Linked DNA regions of Homo sapiens: region 1 is linked to region 2. Evidence: promoter capture Hi-C in 16 types of primary human blood cells and fetal thymus (Javierre and others, 2016). All regions are on one chromosome and are shown on one strand. The core of a region is centred on a gene start or on the middle of the fragment in contact, and the rest is flanking DNA. Distances in the headings are between cores, read along the strand shown. Region 1 has its middle 12 kb from the start of LILRA5. Region 2 holds the start of LILRB2 (leukocyte immunoglobulin like receptor B2).

Region 1 (5,308 bases), core at 2,224-4,723, 43 kb before region 2:
GCCGAGATCGCACCAGTGCACTCCAGCTTGGTGACAGAGTGAGACTCCATCAAAAAAAAAAAGAAAAAAGAAAAATTCCTAAATTGTATATACTTATTGTGTAAAGTATGTAGTTTTGAAATATATATACTTGTCTGTTGGGCAAATCAATCTAATTAACATATACATTACTTTCCATATTTCTAATTTTTGTGTGGTAAGAACCCTTAAAATCTACTTTTATAGTGATTTTTAAGGATATAATACACTGTTATGTCTTCCGAGATGGTGAAAATACCAAAATGGTGTGTAGAGATTCATTCTGCATTCTTGTATCCAAGAAAGAACATGGGAGGTGATATGGTTTGGCTGTGTCCCCACCCAAATCTCATCTTGAATTGTAGCTCCCATAATTCCCACGTGCTGTGGGAGCCGGTGGGAGATAACTGAATCATGGAGGCAGTTTCTCCCATTCTGTTCTTGTGGTCGTGAATAAGTCTCAGAAGAGCTGATGATTTTATAAGGGGTTTCCCCTTTTGCTTGGCTCTCATTTCCTCTGTACCTGCCACCACGTGAGATGTTGCTTTCACCTTCCACCATGATTGTGAGGCCTCTGCAGCCATGTGGAACTGTGAGTCAATTAAATCTCTTTTTCTTATAAATTACCTGGTCTCGGGTATGTCTTTATCAGCAGCCTGAAAATGGACTAATACAGGAGTTGAATATGAAAGTGAAGGAAATCTCAGATACTGCTAAAAAGAAGGCAGGCAGCAGCTCATGCAGCAAGACCTGGCAGAAAACCATGAGTGAACTTCCAGTGCCTGAGAGGGAAGTTATGAGACCACATGATACCCATTCTCAGTGGGGAGCCAGGCAATCCAGGCCACTGGGGAGCTCTTTGACCGACCTAAGCCCTGGATCTGACTTAGGGAACAGCGGGAGGACTGTGAAAAGGAAGGGCCCAGGGAAGTGCTCCATGTGTGCTCCCAGACCTGGATGCTGATAGAAAGAGGCCATTCCTGATCCTAACCCTTAGTGGGCAGTGCAAGAACTTGACATCGGCCCGGCGCGGTGGCTCACGCCTGTAATCCCAGCACTTTGGGAGGCCGAGGCAGGCGGATCACGAGGTCAGGAGATCGAGACCATCCTGACTAACACGGTGAAACCCCGTCTCTACTAAAAATACAAAAAATTAGCTGGGCGTGGTGGCTCATGCTTGTAATCCCAGCACTTTGGGAGGCCGAGGCAGGCGGATCACGAGGTCAGGAGTTCAAGACCATCCTGGCTAACACGGTGAAACCCCGTCTCTACTAAAAATACAAAAAATTAGCCGGGCACGGTGGTGGGTGCCTGTAGTCCCAGCTACTCGGGAGGCTGAGGCAGGAGAATGGCACGAACCTGGGAGGCGAAGCTTGCAGTGAGCTGAGATCACGCCACTGCACTCCAGCCTGGGCGACAGAGCGAGACTCCGTCTCAAAAAAAAAAAAAAGAACTTGACATCAAACATGGGTGAGGGTCACTACTTCGGAGAGTCTTGGGCCAGAGATTGACAATCTGGGCTCAAGTAGAAGACAGGTCCCCATGGACAGAACTGAGAGGCAATTGTGGCATGGGCTCCAGACACCAAGCACTGGCGTTGGACACCTCTCTTTGACAGAACCGAGGGGGAAAAGTTGTAGCCTGAGAGGCATGGATTTTACCCAGGAGGCAAGATCTGTGGCCTGGGGTAGTTGAGTGGTCTGACATCAAACCGCATGTGATTTGACGGTCTGAAATTGCTTCCAGCATTGGGCCACAGGGAGGAGCTCTGCTGGGTTGGGAGCATTAGATTAAAGTGAGTCCCACTGTCATTTTCTAGGCTTGGAACCCAACGTGCCCCTCTGGGGAACTCTGCTGTAACTTTGGCATAATAGTCATTGCCCTACTCAGTGCTTGAGTGTCTCTCCAGGGACCTGAGAACCACACATGTAGCCTCTGTGGGGACGGAGCCTGTGCCTAGCATTGGGCCTGAGTACAGGCTTGCCTGGACCAGCCACACTTACCTTCATTTCCCTGCGTTGGAGGCAGAGTACTGATCAAGACCACTGAGTTTTCCACAACCCAACCCATCACTTAGGATACCTGAATGCTTCTGGTTAACAAAGGTCAAGCATAAAGCCCACTGCCAGCGCTACAACTGGCTCTCACCAGCAATTGCCACCTACTGGCCTGGAGGTCAAACCATACAGCACATTACAACGTCTCCTGAAACAAGTGACAGTGATTGGGGAAGAGACAAGTTTCACACAAACTCTGCCACCACCATTGCCCACGCCACCCCAGCTACACCTCTCCTTTGCAGAACCGCTTGAGGAAAGGCTAAACCTTTCTGCAAAGGAGAGGTGTCTAATTCCAGTGCTCGGGGTCTGGAGCCCATGCCACACTTGCCCCTCAGTTCTGTCTGTGGGGACCTGTCCCCTACTTGAGACCAGATTGCCAAGGAGGAGGCCTTAAGTTAACTTGCCTGCTCTGTCACCTACCTGAGCCTGGGAAGGTTGAGGCTGCAGTGATCCAAGATCGTGCCACTGCACTCCACCCTGGGTGACAAAGTGAGACCCTGTCTCAAAAAACAAAAACAAAAAAACTGCTCTGACCTTTTCAAAAGTATCAAGGTCAAGAACAAAGATAAACAAAGGCACCACGCAGTGGAGTAAGAGCCTGTCTATTGCCTATTGCTCTCAAGCGCCATCTACTGGATTACAGCCACACTACAACACCAAAAATCACTTTACTAAATTCTACCGCCTGGAAAACCAAGAGCAAGAATTCAGCAAAGACCCTGTACAGAGCCTTAGTCCCCTGAAAACTTCCAGAAATAAAGCCAACAGACTATACTCAATTTATACCCTTGCAATGAAAGGAATAGCAACCCTCCCAGATGAGAAAAAAAATCAGGGAAATAACTCCTATTATCTCCAAACCAGTCCACGAGCTCCCCAGAAATTGTTCTTAATCAGTATGAATTGTCTGAAATGACAAACGTAGAATTTGGAATCTGGATGGCAAGGAAGGTCATTCAAATCAAGAGCAAAGTTGAAATTCAATCCAAGGAAGCCAAGCAATCCAGTAAAATGATTAATGACATGAACGATTAAATTTTAAGAAACACCCAAACTGAACTTCTCGAGCTGAAAAATTCATGACACGAATTTCATAATACGATGAGAAGCATTAACAGCAGAATAGACCAAGCTGAGGAAAAGAATTTCAAAGCTTGAAGACTTGTTTGAATCAAATCAGTCAAATATAAGGAAAAAATATTTTTAAAAGTGAACAAAATCTCTGAGAAATATGATATTATCTAAAGACACCAAATGTATGACTTGTCAGCATTCCTGAAAGGGGAAGAGAGAATAAGCAACTTGGAAAATATATTTGAGGATATAGTCCATGAATATTTTCCTAAACTCGCTAGAGAGTTTGACACACAAATCCAAGAAACATAGAGACGCCCAGCCAGATAACGGTCTAGATTTGAGGGTATGGTGAAAAAGATGCTTAGAAAATGTCAGAAGTGAGACACAATGGCTCATTTGCTTGTGTCTTGCATTCTCCACCTTGCAATTCTGTACTGATGGCTGTACTATCAGCAGGATCCACTCGTTATTATATTCACTATCAACCTTCAGCCTAAGGGTTTTGGCAGCCATTGATGTTTATTGCTTGTATACTCAACGCACAGGTTATCCAAGCTTTGCAGGGTTAACTATTATTATGCAAAAACTCTACAGCTATTCTTAGGCAAAAACATTACTATAGCTATTACTATACTTATTATTATGTAGAAACATTCTACAGAAAAGAATGTTTCCTGTGTAACACTTCAGATAAACAAAAGAGATCTTGCTTCTTGCCTTCATTTCCACGTTTTTGATGTGGAGATTTTGTTCTTTTCCCATTCCTCATATTTGAGGGGTTTTTTGTTTTTTAATTTTGTTTTTAACAGTAGTAAACTGATAGGCTTTGAACATATTCATTAGTTTTAATACACTACCTATATTATTTGATTCTATAAATATTCCACATTTTGCCATTGGGAACTTTTCATGATAGACTTTATGTTCAGGTAACATGAATCTGATGGTATGTGGTGATGTCTTTGCTTTCTTGCATGATAAGAAGTTCTGACTTCATCTCCTGTATTTTCTCTCCGAATGTGGAGTCAGCTATTTCTCTAGGATGAAATTTAGAATTTTTGACCATACATATTTTAAGAATTAAACATTTTTGAGGGTGTATTCACTTATGTTTTACTATATATAGTCAAAATTATATAATAATATTAACTATATGTCACTACATAATATATAATTTGATTTAAAAGTATACATTTATTATATAATATGATAAATAATATATGCATTATAAAATATATGGTCAAGTAATTTTGCTTACATTCTAGTACAAATAATTCTTCCTTGTTTAGTAATGCCCTAATTTGATAGGAACTCAATTCTATTTCCTTTTTTAAGGTATTATCTTTAGATTTATAAGTTATATTTAAAAATATTTTATAGTATAGACATTCAGGAATATGTTTATATATGTATATATATATATTTTTAAACGGAGTCTTGCTCGTCGCCCAGGCTAGAATGCTGTGGGTGGCAAGCCACCCAGGTGCCGAGGCAAGAGACAGAGGACACGAGCTGTTCCAGTATAATAAAATATAAAACAAGAATAGTTATACCAGATATAGATCTTAGTTATGATTATATATGAATATCATTAATCATTTGTTTGTAGCAGTTACCCTTTATCCCAATATTATAATAATCCTCCCTCTGTAATCATAACCTAGGAAAAGCCAGGCCATACAGAGATAGGAGCTGAGGGGACACAGTGAGAAGTGACCAGAAGACAAGAGTGCGAGCCCTCTGTCATGCCCGGACAGGGCCACCAGAGGGCTCCTTGGTCTAGCGGTGACGCCAGCGTCTGGGAAGACGTCCGTTGCCAAGCGGACCGTGGTCTAGCGGTAGCGTAAGTGGCAAGGAACAACACCCGCTACTTAGCAGACTGGGGAAGGGAGTCTCCCTTTCCCCGGGGGAGTTTAGAGAAGACTCTGCTCCTCCACCTCTTGTGGAGGGCCTGACATCAGTCAGGCTCGCCCGCAGTTATCCGGAGGCCTAACCGTCTCCCTGTGATGCTGTGCTTCGGTGGTCACGCTCCTAGTCCGCCTTCATGTTCCATCCTGTACACCTGGCTCTGCCTTCTAGATAGCAGTAGTAAATTAGTGAAAGTACTAATAGTCCCTGATATGCAGAAATAATGGCGTAAGCTGTCTTTCTCT
Region 2 (5,453 bases), core at 202-2,701:
CTTGCCATGCCATGCACTCCATATTGTAATCCTTGCTTCTCACTCCCAAATAAACTCAAAATCCAGGCAACCCTGGAGCAATGCAGCCTTGAATTCCAGGGGTCTCTTATATGCACACTTTTTCCAAACAAACGGGGATCAAAACTATAGCATTTGTGAGAAACAAGACTTGCGTATATGAACGGCAGACTTTTCCTATATGCAGACCCAGCAGAGACAACGTCAGGGCTGGAGTACGAGCAAGTGTTGGTACATGTAGGGGGTACTGAAACGAATTGCCTGTGTATCCCAAGAAACAACTGTACTGAGAGATCATATTTTCTAGGGGTTTATTTTTGGTTTTGTTTTTATTTTAGGTTAAAGCTTTGGATAGAATACCCAGTGTCTCCTTGTCCATCTGAAGAACATGCTGCTATGTGGAAGCACATCCTTGAGATCCACAAGGAGACACTGGGCAAGAAGACAAGGATGCCCCACTGTGCAGAGGTCCCCCTAATAAATGCTCTATGAACACCCTGGTGTTTAGTGCTTCTTTCCTTGGAATTCCAGCAGGTCTGGACAGTTTGGTGCACTCCCTTGAGGGAATTCCCCTGGGCTGCTTGGGGTCCACTCCAGCCTCAGGTGTAGCTAGAGGACGCAGCCTCCCACCTTGGTCTGGAGCCCTGAGCCCCTCACTGTCATTGCAGATCCCGGGGTTCCTCTCCCGGCTCCACTCAGTGGTGGAAACCTCCACCCTAATGAGCCCTTGATGGTCCCGGGACCCTGTGGCATCTCACCTCTGGCCTCTGTTCTTTCTTGTGAGTCCGTCTACACTTGGGGTTTCCACATGTCTTTTTCTGCTCATGACCTTGATACTCTGGGTATTTCAGAAATGCTACACATACGTTTCTCCATTACGGTCAGATGTGACATCTTGAGTGGACTCATCAATCACCTACAGAATGTGGAGTCCAACAGCAAGATCCTCTCACGTCCCAAAGCCTCAGGTCTTACCCTGGTCTGGAAATCAAGCACAAATGAGCCCCTCCCAATGTCCCAGGCACCACTGACCCCACAACCACTGTGACGAGTGGGATTCATGACAACAATCTGCAAAGGAAGAAACTGAGGCTCAGTGATGGGACATTACAAACCAAGGTCACGTAGGCAGCGGATGATAACCAGTCATCAAATAAATATCAACTCCCTCCCCCACTCCCCAAATCAAAGCTCAAACATAAGTCATTGTTCCCAAAATGTTGACCAGGAATTGAGGTGCAGAGGGACGGCTAAGGACGCAATGGGCACCGAGGAGGCAGGAAAGACTCAGAGGTTTCTTCCCGGGGGGGAGGGAGTGGACGCTGGAGCAAAAACATTTAAAAAGGGGAAGTTAAGAGGGGACTATTTGGTTGAAAGAAAACCCACAATCCAGTGTCAAGAAAGAAGTCAACTTTTCTTCCCCTACTTCCCTGCATTTCTCCTCTGTGCTCACTGCCACACACAGCTCAACCTGGACAGCACAGCCAGAGGCGAGATGCTTCTCTGCTGATCTGAGTCTGCCTGCAGCATGGACCTGGGTCTTCCCTGAAGCATCTCCAGGGCTGGAGGGACGACTGCCATGGTAAGGACCCCACAACGCTGTGCTGATGGATGGGCTGAAGGAGGGAGGGTGACCATGTGGGAAGCTGTGAGAAGGAAGGGGAAGCCACTGCTACCCTCATCAGGAAGGGCAGACACAAGAAGCACCAGTTCTATTTGCTGCTACATCCCGGCTCTCGGTGAGACGAGGAGAAACCAGACAGACAGTGGCTGGGGGTCAGGAAAGACCCCATTACAGTCTGAAATGTCTGCAGAGGGCCCAGTGCCTGCCCCCACCTCAGCTCTAAAAGAATGAGAGTCAGGCTCCTGGGAGGGCAGTTCCGCTTCTTGTGTGGCTGCAGATGACAACACCCCATGAGAAGGACCCAGCCTCTGAGTGTCCACACAGGGTGGGAAGGAGGGGAGGCTATTTCTCTCTGTGTGTCTCTGTCCCGCCAGCACCGAGGGCTCATCCATCCGCAGAGCAGGGCAGTGGGAGGAGACGCCATGACCCCCATCGTCACAGTCCTGATCTGTCTCGGTGAGATTTGAAGAGAGAGGGGAGCTTCTAACCTAGGAGGGACCTCACCCCACAGCCAAACTCTGGTCCCTAAGGAGACCCCAGGGGCTCACAAAGATCCCAGGGAGGGGAGGACCTGCTCAGGCTTCAGGGGGCAAATCCCTCACAGGGAACTCTCTTCCAGGGCTGAGTCTGGGCCCCAGGACCCGCGTGCAGACAGGTGAGTCTGTCCCCAGCTCTCCCAGGTCCCTCCTCCTCACTGGGGACAAGGGGCCACCTCCGTGCAGCTGGGGATGGGGATTAGAAGTTCTGGACTGACTGATGGGGGCATCTGGAGGGTCCTGGGCTGAGAGCTGAGATCTGTTGGGTGGGAAATGACTTCGAATCTGACCTTTGATTTCCTTCCAGGGACCATCCCCAAGCCCACCCTGTGGGCTGAGCCAGACTCTGTGATCACCCAGGGGAGTCCCGTCACCCTCAGTTGTCAGGGGAGCCTTGAAGCCCAGGAGTACCGTCTATATAGGGAGAAAAAATCAGCATCTTGGATTACACGGATACGACCAGAGCTTGTGAAGAACGGCCAGTTCCACATCCCATCCATCACCTGGGAACACACAGGGCGATATGGCTGTCAGTATTACAGCCGCGCTCGGTGGTCTGAGCTCAGTGACCCCCTGGTGCTGGTGATGACAGGTGAGAGGACACTCAGGGATCCCAGCCCCAGGCTCTGCCCTCAGGAAGGAGGCTCTCAGGGGTGTCTCCCTCTCACAGCCCAGCCCTGGGGATGATGTGGGAGGTGGGAGCCCCATTTAACACGATGCCTCCTTCTCTCCTAGGAGCCTACCCAAAACCCACCCTCTCAGCCCAGCCCAGCCCTGTGGTGACCTCAGGAGGAAGGGTGACCCTCCAGTGTGAGTCACAGGTGGCATTTGGCGGCTTCATTCTGTGTAAGGAAGGAGAAGATGAACACCCACAATGCCTGAACTCCCAGCCCCATGCCCGTGGGTCGTCCCGCGCCATCTTCTCCGTGGGCCCCGTGAGCCCGAATCGCAGGTGGTCGCACAGGTGCTATGGTTATGACTTGAACTCTCCCTATGTGTGGTCTTCACCCAGTGATCTCCTGGAGCTCCTGGTCCCAGGTGAGAAATTCACAGCATTGTCTGGAGTTCCCTGAGTCTCCCTGAGTCTCCAGGCAGGTGGGGAGCAGCCGTGTCTCAGGGCAGTTCCAGGTGGGATGATGTTGGGGCGAGAGGGCTCAGGGGTCCTGGGGCCAGAGACACAGGAAGATCAGCAGTGGTGAGGCACCGGGGGAGAGGGAGGGTTTGTGGGGAAGCCTGAGGGTCGGCTCCTGGAAACCATGAGCACCTTTTCCCAGGTGTTTCTAAGAAGCCATCACTCTCAGTGCAGCCGGGTCCTGTCATGGCCCCTGGGGAAAGCCTGACCCTCCAGTGTGTCTCTGATGTCGGCTATGACAGATTTGTTCTGTACAAGGAGGGGGAACGTGACCTTCGCCAGCTCCCTGGCCGGCAGCCCCAGGCTGGGCTCTCCCAGGCCAACTTCACCCTGGGCCCTGTGAGCCGCTCCTACGGGGGCCAGTACAGATGCTACGGTGCACACAACCTCTCCTCTGAGTGCTCGGCCCCCAGCGACCCCCTGGACATCCTGATCACAGGTGAGGAGCCCAGCGGGTTCAGTCAGGGACCCAGACTCTGCACAGGCCCTGCCGGGGGAATCCAATTAGTGATGGCCAGGATGAGGCGGGGGGTGGTCCCAAGGGAGGGAGAGACAGAGAGAGAGACAGGGGATGGGTGGGGAGGGGAAGACTCAGAGAAAACAGAGACAGAGGCTCCTAGAGAGGCCTGGGGAGGTCTCAGCTCAGAGCAAGGTGGGGCAGCCCCTCACCCATCCTTCTTCTCTCCAGGACAGATCCGTGGCACACCCTTCATCTCAGTGCAGCCAGGCCCCACAGTGGCCTCAGGAGAGAACGTGACCCTGCTGTGTCAGTCATGGCGGCAGTTCCACACTTTCCTTCTGACCAAGGCGGGAGCAGCTGATGCCCCACTCCGTCTAAGATCAATACACGAATATCCTAAGTACCAGGCTGAATTCCCCATGAGTCCTGTGACCTCAGCCCACGCGGGGACCTACAGGTGCTACGGCTCACTCAACTCCGACCCCTACCTGCTGTCTCACCCCAGTGAGCCCCTGGAGCTCGTGGTCTCAGGTGGGGGCCTTGACCCTGTCCTCTCTGAGCTCAAAGGCTCAGCTCAGGCCCTGCCCCCCAGGAGAGCTCTGGGCTGGGATGGAGTGAGCGGGGGTCTGAGCGGGGCTCAGCCAGTGGGAGACTCACCCTCAGAGGGAAGGAGGACAACAGGCCCTCCCAGGCCTGCGCACACTCAGCGGCATCGCCAGCATCATGGACAGGAGAGGCGGGTGGAGGGAGGGGCCTGGGGAGGCCACAGGGCCCATGTAGAGAAATTTGGTTTGAGGTGGAGACTTCAGGAAAGCCCCAGCTCCTCACCCTCCTCTCATTCTTTCACCCAGGACCCTCCATGGGTTCCAGCCCCCCACCCACCGGTCCCATCTCCACACCTGGTGAGTCCCTGAGGCCTCTGGCTCGAAGGGAGCGCAGCGACCCCCAGGGCAGCTTTGAGTGTCCAGGAGGATCCCATTCCCTTCAGGGACTCAATCAAGGGCTTCTGTCCAGGGAGCTGGGCAGAGCCAGAGGAGGGGCCACAGGGTCCCCAGGGCTCTGAGGCTGGGCTGGTGAGGGGTGGGGGGTCAAGGCAGAGAGAAATGTTGGGGCCCAGCCTGGGGGAGGAGCAGCCGGGCTGATGTGGGGAGCAGGGCAGCCCCAGCCCTCACCTCCCCGTCCTGACCCAGCAGGCCCTGAGGACCAGCCCCTCACCCCCACTGGGTCGGATCCCCAAAGTGGTGAGTGAGGGGCTCTGAGTGGGAGGTGGGCGGGGTCCCGGGGAGGCAGGGGTGGGTTCTGTCCTAGGTTCAGGCTCCTCTGGAGGTGGTGATGTAGACAGGCTCCTCCCCTGCCTGGGCCTCAGTTTCTCCAAGTGTAAAGGAGAGAGGCCTGCAGGTGGGAAAGTTCCTTTCAGCTCTCACTCCCAGCTGTGACCTCCTGGGAGAGGAGGCCCCTCAGGGAAGACTCCAAGACTCGATTCCGCGGGGGCCTGTCCCGTCCCACCTGCAGCAGAGACGGTGACCTGGGGCAGGGGAGGGGAGCAGAGTCGTGGTTCAGGACGGTAAGGCTCTTTCCCTGCAGCTCCGGGGCTCGGCTCTGGTGCAGGAACAAGGGCTGCAGGTCAGACTCCCAGGCTCCCTTCCCAGCTCTGCCGCTTCCTGGCTGGGGGCCCGGGGCAGG

What was found. Contacts are between HindIII fragments. The CHiCAGO score rates a contact against its expected background, and 5 or more counts as called.
Region 1: a contact is called between a fragment that was not itself captured here and the fragment with the promoter of LILRB2 in region 2, in 1 of 17 cell types (M0 macrophages). The highest score is 5.3, in M0 macrophages.

Annotation. Positions count from the first base shown.
Region 1 is chr19:54,322,697-54,328,004 of GRCh38, reverse strand. No RefSeq gene overlaps it. Among named protein-coding and RNA genes, the nearest start is that of LILRA5, 12 kb to the right of the region's middle. RefSeq lists a silencer at 2,534-2,828. The HindIII fragment of the contact is 479 bases long and covers 3,234-3,712 here.
Region 2 is chr19:54,277,108-54,282,560 of GRCh38, reverse strand. It overlaps LILRB2 (leukocyte immunoglobulin like receptor B2), which reads left to right and starts at 1,451. Exons shown (of 14, transcript NM_001080978.4): 1 at 1,451-1,600; 2 at 2,017-2,098; 3 at 2,262-2,297; 4 at 2,486-2,770; 5 at 2,914-3,216; 6 at 3,453-3,749; 7 at 3,999-4,301; 8 at 4,622-4,672; 9 at 4,964-5,011. The coding sequence starts at 2,065. It overlaps MIR4752 (microRNA 4752), which reads right to left and starts at 452; the gene lies at 381-452. RefSeq lists an enhancer at 2,338-3,537. The HindIII fragment of the contact is 13,229 bases long and covers 366-5,453 here.